Linked DNA regions of Homo sapiens: region 2 is linked to region 1. The links are contacts of gene promoters, found by promoter capture Hi-C in human tissues and cell types (Jung and others, 2019). All regions are on one chromosome and are shown on one strand. Each heading gives the region's core, a stretch centred on a gene start or on the middle of the fragment in contact. The rest is flanking DNA. Distances are from core to core; before and after follow the strand shown.

Region 1 (6,839 bases), core at 1,020-3,519:
GGACAGGGGATGGTAGCAGAACAGGCAGCTTGATGGCAGATAATCACCAAAAACAATAGGCCACTGTCTCTCCATTTCCAGGCTTGGGTCACTCAGGCTGCGCCAAGAAGATCCTTTCAGAGCCGGCAAAGTTGAGGCCTGGCCTCATTTGCTCATTACTGCGAGCGGGAGCGGGAGCCACTGGGCAGAGATAACAGGAGCTGGGGACAGGCGGTAATTTGACAAATTCTTGGGCACAAGCAGCTATTGTTGCAGGTAAACGGGAGCCAGGGACTGACCCAAGCAGAGAGGCCCAAGGCTGGGGGACAGCAGGGAAGCATGGAGAGAAGAGATCCACACTATCCCTGCCCCCAGCAGACAGACACCCCCATCACATGGGAGTAACCCCCTCCTCTGACTTTTCTACTTTTCCATCTGCCCTGGAGCCAGCGCCCCCTGCAGGGTCTAAGACACGAAGGAGCTGTGGGACAACAGCAAAATGTTCCATGAGTTTGAATGCCAACCAAGCAGCTTCTCCTAAGATCTAGTCTTCCGAAGGGTCGTTTCCAGGCAAGCTAGAGCCTTTCTCATAAATCCCCTCCGTGGGCAAAGCAGGTCCCTGTCTTCCACACAAAGCAAGGAGCTCATTGACCAAAAGTCGGGGGAGGAGGGAAGGAGAGAGGGAGGGGGCTTCAAGGGATGCTTTGCCATTGGTCTGGATGAAGAGGGGGTGTCGCAGAGCCAAATACTAGTTAGAGTTCACAGAAGCCACCGGGTGGGTCAGTGCTACCCTGACTCACCCAATTTGGGCTGGGGGAGGGACCTAGCCCCACCCCAAGCTCTGCTCTGAGGCATCATGATTAGTACTTCTAGGGAGAGGGTGGCGGCTGCCTCTCCCCTCACCAGGACTAGGGGAGGGGGGATGTAGCATCTCATGGCAGGCCAGGGATTTTTCTCCTCCCTCTCCCCCCCAACTCTAGTGACAAAGTTTCAGAGCATGGCAGCCCTCTTACTCAGAAAAACTCCCTCCTTCCTCATGGACCCCGTCCAGCTGTCCCCTGGGGAGAGTCCTGACCCTCTCCTCCGGCAGCCTCCCTCTCCCAAAGGACCCCCGAAGCCCCGAGGGCCACTCACTGTTTTGGAGTCGAGCTCGTGCCGCGATTGCGCCAGCACTTTATCCACCCCCGCCTGGTCCATGAAAGTGACGAAGCCGAAACCCCTGCGCGCCGTAGTGAGGGAGAGGCAGATGGTTACAAGGCAGTGAGTGGCGGGTGGAGGGGGGCGAGCCGGGAGCAGGAGGAGGGGGTGAGGGGCTCACCTGGATCTCTTGGTCAGGGGGTCCCGCATCACCAGACACTCCTTCACCTCCCCGAACTGGCCGAAGTATTCGCGCAGCCCTTCTGTAACCACACACCCGCCTTCGGACCAGCCCGGGCCCCGCGCCCTTCCCCCCCCCCCGTCCTTTGCCCCCGGTGACCCCGGAGCGGCCCGGCCGCCCCCGCGCCAAGCTGCCCGCGCGTTCTCCACTGCCGCCGCCCCCCACCGCCCTCGCCCCGTTCCCGCTGAGCCTCCTGGCGCCCACCGGGGCCCCGGGAAGCCGAGGGCCGAGCTGGGCTGGAAGGGGGACGGCTCCGGCCGGGTTCCCGCCGCTCCGGGAGCAGCCTCACAAAAGTTTGAGCCGCAGGTGCGAGCGGAGTTGGCGCTGCCGCCGGCGGGTCCCGGGGGCCCAGCCCACCCCCCGATACCCCCTGAACCCCTCATCTGCTCCCCTCCACCCGCTGGGCCGGGTGCGCTCGCGGATCGCCCTGCGCTCTCGGGGTCTCCGGGCGGGGCGCGAAAGAGGGCGCGAGGGCGCCCGGGGTCAGCAGGGCGCAGGGCCGGGCTGGGGTGTCCGGGTCCGGGGCGCCGGGGGGTCCGGGGTGCCCTGCCGGACCGGCGGGCGCTCCCGGGCTCGCTCACCCTGCGTAGTCTGCCAACTGAGTCCCCCGATGAACATCTTGCTGCGGGAGGAGGAGAGACACAAAGGGCCCGCGTGAGCGCCGGGCGCCAGGGCGCAGGGGGCGCGGGCCCGGGCTCCGGGGAGGCCCGGCCGGACCCGGATCGGCCATGTTGGCGGGGCCGGGGCGGGCGCGGGCCAAGCAGGCCGGGCCGGGCCGTACCAGGGGTCGTGCGGCGAGTCCGGGGAGGCGAGGCCGGGCTGGGGCGCGTCAGTCTCCATCGGGAGCCGCGGGCGGCGCGGGCAGCGGAGCGGCGGCGGCGGCGGCGGCGGCGGCGCTCGGCGCGGGGCAGATGAGGAGCGCGGCGAAGGGGGCCGGACGGACAGGCCATGCTGCCCCCTCCCCCGACCCCGCTCGGGCGGGCGGGCGGGGACGGCCGAGGGGAGGGCCCGCCGGGGGCCGACCTGCCGGCTCCTCCCCCCGCCGCCCTGCGCGCATAAAGCCCCGCGCTCGCCCGCGAGCCCGGGCGCCCGCGGAGGCGGCGGCGCCGGGACCCCCTTCCCGCGGGGCTCCTGGGTCTCCGGGGCCGAGCGAGACCCCCGAATCCCGGTGCGGGCCGGGACCAGGGCGCGGCCGCACCCCCCACCCACCCCGGCGCGGGGGCCCGGCCGCGGGAACGCCCTCCCGGAATGAAGCGCTTCCCGGTGCCTTCAAGGTAGCTCGGTTCCGGATCGGGAACCCCCCCGGTCTTCCCTCTCAGGTCCCTGCTGTCCAGAATTGAAGAGAACCCCAATCTCCTCGGGTCGGGCGGGAGATAGCCCTAGTGCTCCCCAGTCCCCACATGCTCCATTTCCCCAGTCGGAGCGAGAAGCCGCCCTCAGAGCCCCCAGTTTCCTCCCAACCTAATTTACAGCCCCCCACCCCCACCCCAGGGCTCTAATTTAGAGCCCTCGCTCCGTTCCCAGGATCCCATATCCAGTTTGGGGGACCCACTCAGTGCCTCGCGTCCCGAGTGGGGAACCTCCATCAGCACCCCAGTAGAAACCGTATCCTCTTCCCCAATCCGTCCTCAGCCCTTGGTGTCCAAAGTGAGAGTCCCCCTTAGTTTCCCCAAATCCCTGCCGTCCACATTAGTGGACCCTATGGTCTGTTGAGAAAATCCCGCGCCCCAAGCCCGGGTTCTCAGTTTGCCGCCACCCCCACCTCCCGGTGTGAGGAGTCTCCCCTGGTTCTCTCCCTCCCTGGCCGGTTTTTGTGAGATCCATTCAGACTCCTGTCCTGATTCGGGAAACCCGGTTCCAGACACTCACCACCCCCACCACACCGAGGCTGGAGGAAAAGGCAGTGCCTCTTAGAGCCTCCTGTTTCCAGTTTAGGAGCCCAACGCCTCAGCTGTGCACCGTCCCCTCCGAATGACCCCCTTCTTTTGCAGAGGTCTAAGCTCCACCCCATCCCATTGGAAGAGCCTAAACTACCTACCCACTGCATTTGGAATGACTTCCCTCAGTCCCTCTTATTTTGAGGCTACTCCCCGTGAAGGCAAACACCTTCCTTTCTACCCCCATCTTCTGGGTCTCTGGGATCCCCCAGTACTTGCACCCAAGGCTCCTTGGAGTCACCTTACGTACCCCTAAAATTCCCTCCCTCCAGCCTGGGAACAACCCTGAGAAAGTATTCTGGTTCACCAGGGGAGCTGCGGGGCCACTCTCCTTATCCCCACCTCTCCTTATCCCCGCCTCTCCATATCCCCACCTCTCCATATTCCCACCTCTCCATATCCAAGCCTTAGGACCCTTCACTTCCCCAGCTGAAACCAGCCAAAAAAGGATCAAACCAGGAAGCTTAGGTGGCCAACACCCCTTCTCCCCATCCCTGCTGGGGGTCTCAGTGCCACACAAGCCCCTCCCTCCCAACTCACCTTCTACTCCTTCCCCCATCCCTACCTTAATCCATCCGGTGTAATCCAGTGACAACCCATGTTGACAAGCCCTTTGCTGTTCACCTTCACATTCCATCCTGAATTCAACACCTTTTATTCCTGGGCATCATAACTCTGACCTCTGGAAGGGTGCCCATCCCCCTCTTGATAGCCCTCCTTCCCTCTCCCCACCCCAACCATCAGGCAGAGAAGAAAGTGAGAGACTTACAGTAATGGTTTCCTTGGGGACCTTCTGGGAATGCTCAGCAGGTATATCCTGCCACCCTGTGAGCATAACACTAGAAACAAACTTGCTTTTTCCTGTTTGTGTCCCCTACTCTGCCCCACAGTTTCTCAGCATCCCCTGGACTGGGGACTGGAGGGCCACCCACACAAGGCATTTCTTACCATTCCGACACAAAAGCATTCCAGTTTGTGTTGTAGCAGAGACACAGATGAGGGTGAGCAGGTAGCCTCTGCGGTATTAGGGAGGTGACTCTTCTTAGGTCTGAACTTAAAAAGGGTCATTGGAGAGGTGCGGGGAGTAGGGATCTTCCAGTGTTCCTGGACTTTGGTTTGTGTGCTGGTGCTGCTGGGCAGATGAGCTTGAAGGATAGGAAATGGGTCCTTTCCGGCAGTGGCGACCTACCCACGAGAACATGCCTCTCGACAGGGATCTCCTTCATCCTTCTCCAGAAGAGAAGAGGAAACAGAAGAAGAAACGCCTGGTGCAGAGTCCCGATTCCTACTTCATGGATATGACATGCCCAGGATGCTATAAAATCACCATGGTCTGTAGCCATGCACAAACGGTAGTTTTGTGTGTTGCCTGCTCCACTGTTCTCTGCCAGCCTACAGGAGGAAAAGGAAGGCTACAGAAGGATGTTCCTTCAGGAGGAAGCAGCACCCAAAGCACTCTGAATCAAGATGAGTGGGAAACCATCTCAATAAACACATTTTGGATTAAAAAAAAAAAAGGAAATGGGTAAAGGCATCTGTTCAGAGTCAGCCAATGCTGTGTAAGAAGTAGCTTGAGATAGGATCCATGTATTAGCATATTCATTCAGAATCTGAGGAGGAAGCGTCTACCTCTTTTGGTCAGTAGCTTGTTTGTATCACAGTAACATGGGTTAGACTTAGACAAATCCTCTTTCAGTGCAGGTGTATCTCAGCTGCAGCAGCTTCAGTCCACTTTGTTCACAATAGGGGCGACAAGCCCTTCTAGAGGTAGCCCTCACAGGACAATGCAGTTGTAAACTCATGATCCTCATAGTAAATTGAGGATCTCAGTGGTATTAAGGAAAAATGATCTTTAGAGCAACAGGCCCAGACTTCAGAATTAAGAGATTAGAGGATGTGGTTCCAGCTCTTTTTCTCTGGTACTACACACACAGAACATCACTCAAAGAATAAAAGAAGAATTTGCTTTATAGTTTTTAAAAAATCCTCTTGAGAAAGACAGTGGGCAAATGATATTATGCAACTTGGCACAGGTATTTACCGAACATCTTCTATGTACTAGACACTGTCCTAGGTGTTGTAGTCCCAGCAGCTGCCTTTGTAAAGCTTGCATTCTAGAGATGAGAGTCATACAAGTAAATGAATGAATGAATGAGTCAATGAATGAATGAGTGAATGAATGAATAAACAATAGATAAATAAATGGTGTGTTCAGTTAGATGTTGTAGGTGCCACAGAGAAGGAAGGGTGATAGGGAGGGTGGGTACTATTGGGAAGAAGGTGAGATGAAATTTTATATATATATATATTTTTGAGATGGAGTCTTGCTCTGTCACCCAGGCTGCAGTGCAGTGGCATGATCTCGGCTCACTGCAATCTCTGCCTCTTGGATTCAAGTGATTCTCCTGCCTCAGCCTCCCCAGTAGCTGGGGTTACAGGCATCCACCATCACTCCTGACTAATTTTTTGTATTTTTAGTAGAGATGGGGTTTCGCCGTGTTGGCCAGGCTGGTCTTGAACGCCTGACCTCAGGTGATCTGCCCACCTCTGCCCTTGAAAGTGTTGGGATTACAGGCGTGAGCCACCACACCTGGCCTGAGATGCAATTTTAAATCAACAACATTCTCATGGGGAGGGAGACGTTTTAGCAAAGACTTGAAGGAGATGAGGTAAATGAGTCTACTCTATGATACAGAACTCTCATTTAAGCAGAATGTCTGCATCTCTTAAGTACAATGATAATTAACGTTCATATTTTGACTTTCACTACTCTAAAACTGTAGGTCAAGTGGACTAGGGGTGGATGGGGGCTCAGAAAATGGCAGTTTTTGAACAGACACCTCTATCAGATGAGAAGGCTGAGAGCTGAGGGTTTTCCTTGGCCACTCTTGGAGAAACACAGCTTTAAGATATATTGAAGAGCCTTTGAGAATGACAACAACAAAATTAAAGATTAAATTATAGTCCATGTGGTTTTAGCGTGCAGAGTATTTCACAGTGTTCTCATTCTTTGAAAATGCAATATTGGCCGGGCGCAGTGATTCACGCCTGTAATCCCAGCACTTTGGGAGGCCGAGGTGGGTAGATCACGAGGTCAGGAGTTCGAGACCACCTGGCCAACATGGTGAAACCCGGTCTCTACTAAAAATACAAAAATTAGCCTGGCGTGGTGGCGCACGCCTGTAATCCCAGCTACTGGGGAGACTGAGGCAGGAGAATTGCTTGAACTCAGGAGACGGAGGTTGAAGTGAGCTAAGATTGCACCACTGCACTCCAGCCTGGGTGACAGAATGAGACTCCGTCTCAGAAAAAAAAAGAACAAAAGAAAATGCAATATCCAAGCAAAGCCCTGAATTACCTGGAACTTCCCATTTCTTGTCCATGCAAGACAAGGAAAAATTTACTGTAAGCTGATTAAGAGCCATGCATTTATAATCAGCCCATTTTACAAACTTCCCCCACTTAAAAAAATATATATATATACCTATATATATATACTTTATTTTTTCTTTCTTTTTTTGAGGCAGGGTCTCACTCTGTTGCCC
Region 2 (7,712 bases), core at 2,322-4,821, 150 kb before region 1:
AAAGTGCTGGGAATACAGGTGTGAGCCACCGTGCTCAGCTAGCCAGGAACTTTTTTAACTAGTTTTTTTTTTCTTATTTATATTATTATGCTAATATTATATTATGCTATTATACTTGTTGGTAGTGTTTTGGGGGTTTTTGGTTGTTTCGTTTTGTTTTCCAAAGAGGCATAAAGCTTGGGGGATTTTTTTTTTTTTTTTTTTTTGAGACAGTGTCTTGATCTGTTGCTCAGGCTGAATGCAGTGGTGCGATCACAACTCACTGCAGCCTCAAACTCCTGGGCTAAAGCCATCCTCCTGCTTTAGCCTCCCCAGCAGCTGGGACTATAGGCATGTGCAACCACGCCCAGCTAATCTTTAATTTTTTGTAGAGACAGGGTTTCACTGTGTTGCCTAGGCTGGTCTCAAACTCCTGGGCTCAAGCGATCCTCTTGCCTCAGCCTCCCAAAGTGCTAGGATTACAGGTATAAGCTACTGTGCCAGGGTGAGGCATAAAGTTTTTTGTTGTTGTTGTTGTTTTGTTTTTGTTTTTTGAGACCAAGTTTCACTCTTGTTGCCCAGGCTGGAGTGCAATGGTATGATCTTGGCTCACCGCAACCTCTGCGTCCTGGGTTCAAGTGATTCTCCTGCCTCAGCCTCCTGAGTAGCTGGGATTACAGGCATGCGCCACCATGCCCAGCTAATCTTTTTGTATCTTTAGTAGAGATGGGGTTTCTCCATGTTGGTCAGGCTGGCCTCGAACTCCCAACCTCAGGTGATCCGCCCGCCTCGGCCTCCCAAAGTGCTGGGATTACAGGCGTGAGCCACCACACCTGGCCCGGCATAAAGTTTTAATTTAAGCAAAAAGCAAGTAATAAAAGTACTGTCAGCCACGGCCTATTGAGGGACCACATGCTGTGTTCTAAACACTTTCCAGGAATTATCTCATTTAGGTCTCCGGACAATCTTGATGGAAATTCTCCCCACTTTACAGATGAGAAAACTGAGGCTGAGGGAGGGGGTTGCCCAAGGTCACAGAGGTAGCAAGTGTTAGACATGTGGTTTGTATCTAGGTCTATCTGGTTCCAAAGTCCATGCTGCTAACCATTTCACCACATCAGAATGTCAAGGACAGCTCATCTGAAAGGAAAAAGCCTCAACAAGGCAAGAGGTGGGTTGACGCTATGAGAAATGCTGGGTCCACAGAGCCCACTGCCAAGTGCTGACTGTCAGGTCCGGCCACAGTGTCTCAGCATTTTCTGCCCAAGCAGACATGCGCAGAGTGGGAGGCTGCATGCAGTTAGCGAGGAGCGGCCCACACTCAGACCCGCCAATGGCCATGCCCAGCAGCCATGCGAGCTGGTGCCTGCCTGGCCAGAGGTGGAAATCCTCTCCGTGGTGCTGGGTGTGCCCATGGCCATGGCACATGGAAGCTCTGGCTGTTCCTTCCCGTCCTGGGTGGCAGCTTCCGTGGTGCCCTCTGGGCTCCTTGGGGTTTCAGGTCCCTGGGTTGGCCTGGCCACACTTCCCCTCTCGGTCATCTTTGCACCTAGCTGCTCCGTGGTAACTGAGGCAGGGGAGCTGCTTCCCAGCCTCCCTGGCTCTGGCCTTGGCCTCTCCTGCTGTAGGCCATGTTCCTCCGTGAGAGTCCAGGTATCTGGGAAGATGGCCTGCCGGTCCACTGCCACTACAGCTGGCTCTGTTACTTCTTGGAAGCTTCGAGCAGCTCCAGAGGGGGGCATTCTCTCAGGCCCGAATACCTCCGAAGCCCATGGCTGCTCCCATGTGGCAGCCAAGGCCTCCTCTGGGCACGAAGGGCTGGCTGGTGGCCCCTGGGGCTCCCCAGGCTCTTGGAGAGCTGTGCTCCCAGCACAGGGTACAGTGTGGCAGCGGGGAGCCCCAGAGAGCTCACTTGTGATGGTCGGCAGGTGCCTCCAATCTCGACCCTGACTCTCTGTGCCCACTGCCCACAGAGAACCCTCCACAGAGGGAGACCTTGAGTTGAAGGTGTCAGGCATCACCCCAAGACCAGCCAAATCAAGCCAGCTGGGGGCTACAGGAGGTAGAAGGCCTCGTCCACTCTGCTCAGTACAAGGGAACTCCGGAGTGTGGCCCTGGCCTCGAGGGGAGGGTATAGTGGTGGGTGGCAGAAATACAGATGGCATGGGAGGAGGAGAAGGAGGAAGGGAGCAGTATGAGGACGGAGCAGAGCTGGACAGCCCCGGGGCACTCAGAGCCACAGTGGAGGAGCTGGTCTGGAGAAGAGAGAAATGCAGAGGGGAGAGGAGAGAGAGAGATGAGGGGAGTGAGGACGGCTGCACCTTGCAGGCGGTGGGCTCGGCCTTAGGGCTGACCAAGGTGGCTGCAAAGCTGACGCACAGGACTGACCCTTGAAGGAGACCCAGACCCCAAAAAAGCTTCCCTGGGCTTTGCGTGCTTAGCCCTCACCAAACCCAAGCAAGAGAAAGCAGCCACCAAGCCGTGCCTGTGGAGCCACCCAGGGAGGGTATGAGAAAGAAAAGACCACGGTAAGGTGGACAAATGGGGAGCCAGGTGGCTACGGAAGACAGCCCCAGGCACAAATGGAGGGAGAGCCAGCCCCAGGGGCTGCTGAACCCGCCTCGGACACTGGCCCAACTCGGCCATGTCCCTCCGGACAATCCCAGCTTTCCTACACCCCAAGTCCTCTACGTCTTCCACATCCTTGCTCCAGGGATCTGACTAAAACCACTGCTGCTTCTCCTGGCATCAGGACACAGGCTGTCTGAGAAAACGGCAGCCTTAAAAGCACCGGGGCACAGCTCCCTCAGGCCAGGCCCTGAATCCAACTTACTTGCTTCTGACCATGGCTGCTCAGAACCACTGGCCTGGAGCTGGAACTATAGCACGCAAGGGTCACAGGGCCAGGCTCAACCCTCCACCCCAGCCACACTCCTGTCTCCCACCATGAAACCTCAGCTGAAGGGAGGCTAGGAGACACCATCAGGGCCAAGGGTGCAGGGACCGTTCACTCCCCTCTCATATTCCCTAGGTCATGCCCCAAAGGTCTCCAGCTGACCCACGTGGAAGTATGAAGTCAGCAGCTGCTGGTGAGTTCTGTCAATATCAATCCCCAAGGAAACACTGAATCCTCTAAATTAAACATCTCAGGCCTGGCAGGACTGGGGAGGCCCAGCAGGGGAGGGGAAGGGCAGGTACCTCGTGCAAGCCTGGCCCCATGGTTTCCCACAGACACGCTCGTGGGAACTCAGAGGCCCTGGAGGGCGAGAGGGAAGGATGGGAGAAGAGTAGCAAGGGAGGCTTGTGGATTCAGGATCAGAGGCAGAAAGAAAGAGGATGTGTTGAGGACAGCTAGCGTGGGAGATGGGGCTCCAGGGCAAATGACCTCCCAGGCACAGGCTCCCAAGTCCCACATGGCCCAGCAGAGAATGCCCTCCCCCACCCAGAGCAGCCATCAACACAAGGTTCTTTGTCCCAGCGTCCCAGCCTCCTGATCCCCTCGACCTGAGAGGCTGGGAGCACCCAGGGAGGAAGGAATGTCCCAGCTGAGCACTTCTCCAGCTTGTCTGCCTTCACTGGCTACTGCAATCCTCAGGCAGGCTGACCCGGCCCTCCCTCCCCATCTCCTGGCATCACAGCAAGGCCAGGGCATGACAGTGTCCCTGGCTCAGGGGCAAGGCACCCAAACACTGAGATGCCAAGATCCAGCTACCCACACTGAGGTAAGGGAGGAGAAGGATGAGGGAGGGGCGGCAGGGCAGGGAAGATGGAGGGTTCACAGGGCACCTTGAAATCCGACAGCGAAGCCATCAGCTCGTCCAGCTCCCTGGTGGCAGAGGAGGCCGAGATGCGTGTCTGCTGTTGGGTGGAGGTGACGCGCTGCGGGCTGCTCATCTCGCCCTGGTTCACAGTGATGGCAGGGCTGCAGGGTGGGCACAGCATCAGTGGGGAGCCCACAGTCAGCCCCACACTTCCCGGGGATCAGATCGACCTCTCACCTCGGACACTGGGGTCTCACCATCCCCAACCCCAGGGAGGTCCACCAGCTCCCTGTCTCTCCTGGGGACCCATCACTGGGTCAGAAGAAAGGGCAGTTCAATGGCACCAGGAAGTGCCAGGAAGACTCCTCTAGCCCCCAGCCCAAGTGAAAGCTGGCCTGCGAAACAAGCCCAAGCGCCCTGTGTTTCCTCCACAACACTGGACATGGAGGTGAGGCTACTGCAGTAACACGACGGCACTGGTAAGAGCTCGCGTGTTGGGCACTCACCATGTGTGCCACGCACTACACACCAGAAACCATTCCAAGCGCTTTACATGGATTACTGGTTCTCACCCTTACTGAGGTAGGTGGTCTTATCCCAGTGATCCCATAAGTTCTTGTCCCATTTTACAGATGGGAAAACTAAGGCTTGAGAGCTGACAGTAACTGTCAGAGCCAAGATGTGAACCCCACTGTGTGGCCCCAAAGCCTGTGCTAAGAGCTGCTAAGCTCCAGGCGCCCTCAGCCTGCACAACGTCTGTCCTTTCTGACTGGCAGTGACTGGCTGAAGGCAGGGATGGTGTCCATGTGACTCACCACTATCCCCCCAGTGCCTGGCAAATGGCAGACACGGGAGGGAGTGGGTGATACCAGGGCTAAGGGGACAGACACTGGACCCGGGGCAGGCTGGGCCAGCCCTTCCCCACCTGGGGAGGGCCCAGTGGGTACTCACACGGGGCTGGGCACGGAGCTCTCCAGTTCATCCAAGAGACTCTCCACACTGGGCCGCACGTCCTCCAGGCCCCGGCCCCCATTCCGCTTAGGCTTCTCTTTCGTCAGGGGCCCAGCTTTGCCTCCCAAGGGGCTGTTAGTCTCTGGGACACCATAGAGGGGGCTCAGGGCCCCAGGAAGCGGGGGGCTTGAGTTGGCCTCATCTTGCAGAGAGGAGAGAAAAAGGCTGCTCAGCCCTTGAGCCCTCCTGGGATCTAGAGGTCAGCAGATGGGCCCTGGGCCCTGGTAGACCCTGCCCCAGGGACCCGGTCCTACCTGCAGGGAAGCCTGGCGGGTTATGCTGTACAGCGTTCAGTTCCAGCAGCAGGCGGTCGAGTTCAGAAAGGTTGCTGCCCAGGGACGTGCTCATTACGGTGGGTGAAGGCTCAGCTGATTTCTGCTTGTTGGGGAAGCTTTGAGAGGCAAAGGAAAGAAGATAGTGAGAGATGCTTTCTGGCCTTGTACTGGCTTGGCAGTTCCCAGATTCCCAAGGAGAACAAGGCAGAGGAGATGCGAAGTCTTCCCCCGCAAGAGGACAGAGGGTAGGGAAGGGATGTGGTAAGAAGAGGGGAGGAGGCCGGGCACAGTGGCTCACGCCTGTAATCCCAGCACTTTGGGAGGCTGAGGCGGGCAGATCATGAGGTCAGGAGATTGAGACCATCCTGGCTAACACGGTGAAACCCCGTCTCTACTAAAAATTAGCCAGGCGTGGTGGTGGGTGCCTGTAGTCCCAGCTACTTGGGAGGCTGAGGCAGGAGAATGGCGTGAACCCAGGAGGCGGAGCTTGCAGTGAGCCGAGATCGCGCGACTGCACTCCAGCCTGGGCGACAGAGTGACAGAGCGAGACCCCGTCTCAAAAAAAAAGAAAAAAAGAAGAGGGGAGGAATGAAGTCTTGCTTCAGTTCCTCAGCTACACGGAGATGCTGTGATAGCCCAGAATGTCCACTGCATGGAGATGGCACTGATGAGGTAGACGGGCCCACCGACAGGCCTTCTGCAGCTTAAACCAGAATAACCCCACAAGGCCCAGTTGCTATGCCTGCTCCCGGGCCTCCGCTGCCTCCCACCCTGGCCAGGTCCCTGAGATTTCTAAGCAGGAGGGAAGGTGCCCTGGGCAGACTGGGGCAGTACCTGTAGACGTGCTCCTCCTCACCCACTCGGGAGCACGGAGAGCCAACACTGTCCTGAGGGTTGGAGACACTGGAAGTTTTGGCACTGGAGCCGTACACAGGTGATGAGGACTGAGGCTGCGAGAAGGAGAATGCTCAGAGGCTACCCCGAGGGGAGAAAAAGGAACAGGGGCCAGGAGCAGCTCCAGTCACCCCCAGGAGGCTCCTGCCCACAGCCAGTCTCACCAGGGAATTTCCACAGTTGGGCCAGGAAACCTGTGATTAACCACTTGGTCACTGTTCCACTCACGTGGTGAGTGGGAAGAGCAGTGTCTGGTTGGGAAGGGTCGACTGCCCCAATTCCATTCCATCCCCTGGCTCCCTAAGCCCCTGCCAGCTAAGTTCCCTCTGTCCCCCAGCCTCCTTGGCCTTCCCAGCCACTGTCCCCGCCTCACCTGCTGGTGGATGAATCGGGAGCTGCTGGGCTGCCACTGGTCTAAGGGGTCAAGGATTGTGCCATTGAGGGCCTCGCTGGACGGGGGTGGGGGGACGGGGGGTGGCACGGCAATCTCCTGGTATGTGTGGTTTCCAGTTGGGTATGAGTAGGGGGTCTCCTCCGACAAGAACACAGGCCGTTTGGAGATGTGGGAGGTGGTAGACTCCAAGTCCGCCAGCAGGGCGTCTGCAAAGAGAAGGCACGGGTAGCAGGTGAGAACCGGGATCCTGGGGACTCTCCCGTGGCAGGGCCCTCCCTGCCTGCACCTCAAGAGTTAATGCCTTCTAGCACCTGCCCCACCCATGGGAGAAATGACCAGCCTTGGGACAGGAAGCCACCAGCCCCGACCAGCCTAACCAAGAGCCGGCTCCCAAAGCTAACTTCTTCTGGCCACCCAGGACTGAAAGTGCTCTAGAGGCGGGCTCTGGGGCTGCCCTGTGGGATCTCCTACCTCTGGGAGTCAGGCACCTGGCACTGCGTTCCCTCCTGACAGGGCCGCGCAGCCGCGAGTGAAGTGCCTGTCTGGAACTCTGAATCTGCAGGGCAACGCGGAGAGAATGGGCGGGAGGGGCCCCACGTCACAGGGAGGGGCCCTGGCTATGCCAGGCCCTCACTTGATTTCTAAGAGCTTAGGCTTTCCCAGCCCCCGACTGGAAGGGGCACTCAGGATGGTCCCTGCCCTCCTAACCAGGTGGAAGCAGAAGCCCAGGCTCCAGGTTCCTCCTGAGGCTCTAGGCTTATGGGGTAAGGTGTGCGGGGAGGTGGGGGCTGGAGTGAGGCTGGTGCAGCGGTCCCCACCCCCTCAGTGAGCAGGGGGCAAGACTGCTCCATTGGCTGTTTCTGCGGAAGTCTGGCAAGCAGCCCGGCCCCAGAGGCTCCAGGCCCCCACTGTTCTGCTTTTAACAGCGGCAAGGGAGCCAAATCAGCCCTCTAGTGTAAGCTTCCATTACCCTGGCACCTGGCAGCCAACAGGGGGGCACTAGGTCTCCCCAGTCTCCAGAAAAGAAGGGTATAGAAGGGCAGGAGTAGGACCTGCTGACCCCCACTTCCTCCATCCCCTCCTGGGACCCTCAACAGCCCCACGGCTCAGACAGCCTGGCCCTGGATGCCACACCCTCATTCCTGCCCCGTTCACAACTTGCTTGCTCTCAGCTCCCCGGTAACCTGCTGGGTCCAGGGAGCTGACAGCTTGATCCCTAGCCCTCAGGATAATAAACATCTAAAAAGCAATGGCTGCGTTTATTGCCACTTATCAGTAGCAGGCAGACTGCTAGGCATTCTAGCAGCATGTACGAGGTCTCCGTTAATCCCCCTAATACCCCCTGTAGCTGGAAATGATTCTCCCCGAAGCGATGAGGAAAGCCGGGCTTGGAGAGGC

Evidence for each region. The method cuts DNA at HindIII sites, captures the fragments that hold promoters and counts their contacts. A contact is called where the count stands out against the background at its distance.
Region 2: a fragment that was not itself captured here is called in contact with the fragment with the promoter of MSI1 in region 1 in 2 of the 25 tissues and cell types used here (dorsolateral prefrontal cortex and lymphoblastoid cells).

Annotation. Positions count from the first base shown.
Region 1 is chr12:120,366,895-120,373,733 of GRCh38, forward strand. MSI1 (musashi RNA binding protein 1) reads right to left here and starts at 2,270. Exons shown (of 15, transcript NM_002442.4): 1 at 2,139-2,270; 2 at 1,939-1,979; 3 at 1,298-1,379; 4 at 1,114-1,198. The coding sequence starts at 2,197. It also overlaps the pseudogene RPS27P25. The HindIII fragment of the contact is 19,353 bases long and covers 1-4,578 here.
Region 2 is chr12:120,217,858-120,225,569 of GRCh38, forward strand. It overlaps PXN (paxillin), which reads right to left. Exons shown (of 15, transcript NM_001385981.1): 2 at 6,294-6,520; 3 at 5,861-5,976; 4 at 5,006-5,142; 5 at 4,692-4,893; 6 at 3,766-3,901; 7 at 1,350-2,234. It overlaps LOC124903034 (a long non-coding RNA gene), which reads left to right and starts at 2,234. Exons shown (of 3, transcript XR_007063487.1): 1 at 2,234-3,068; 2 at 3,458-6,546; 3 at 6,623-7,564. RefSeq lists silencers at 7,031-7,080, 7,389-7,683 and an enhancer at 7,198-7,712. The HindIII fragment of the contact is 5,273 bases long and covers 936-6,208 here.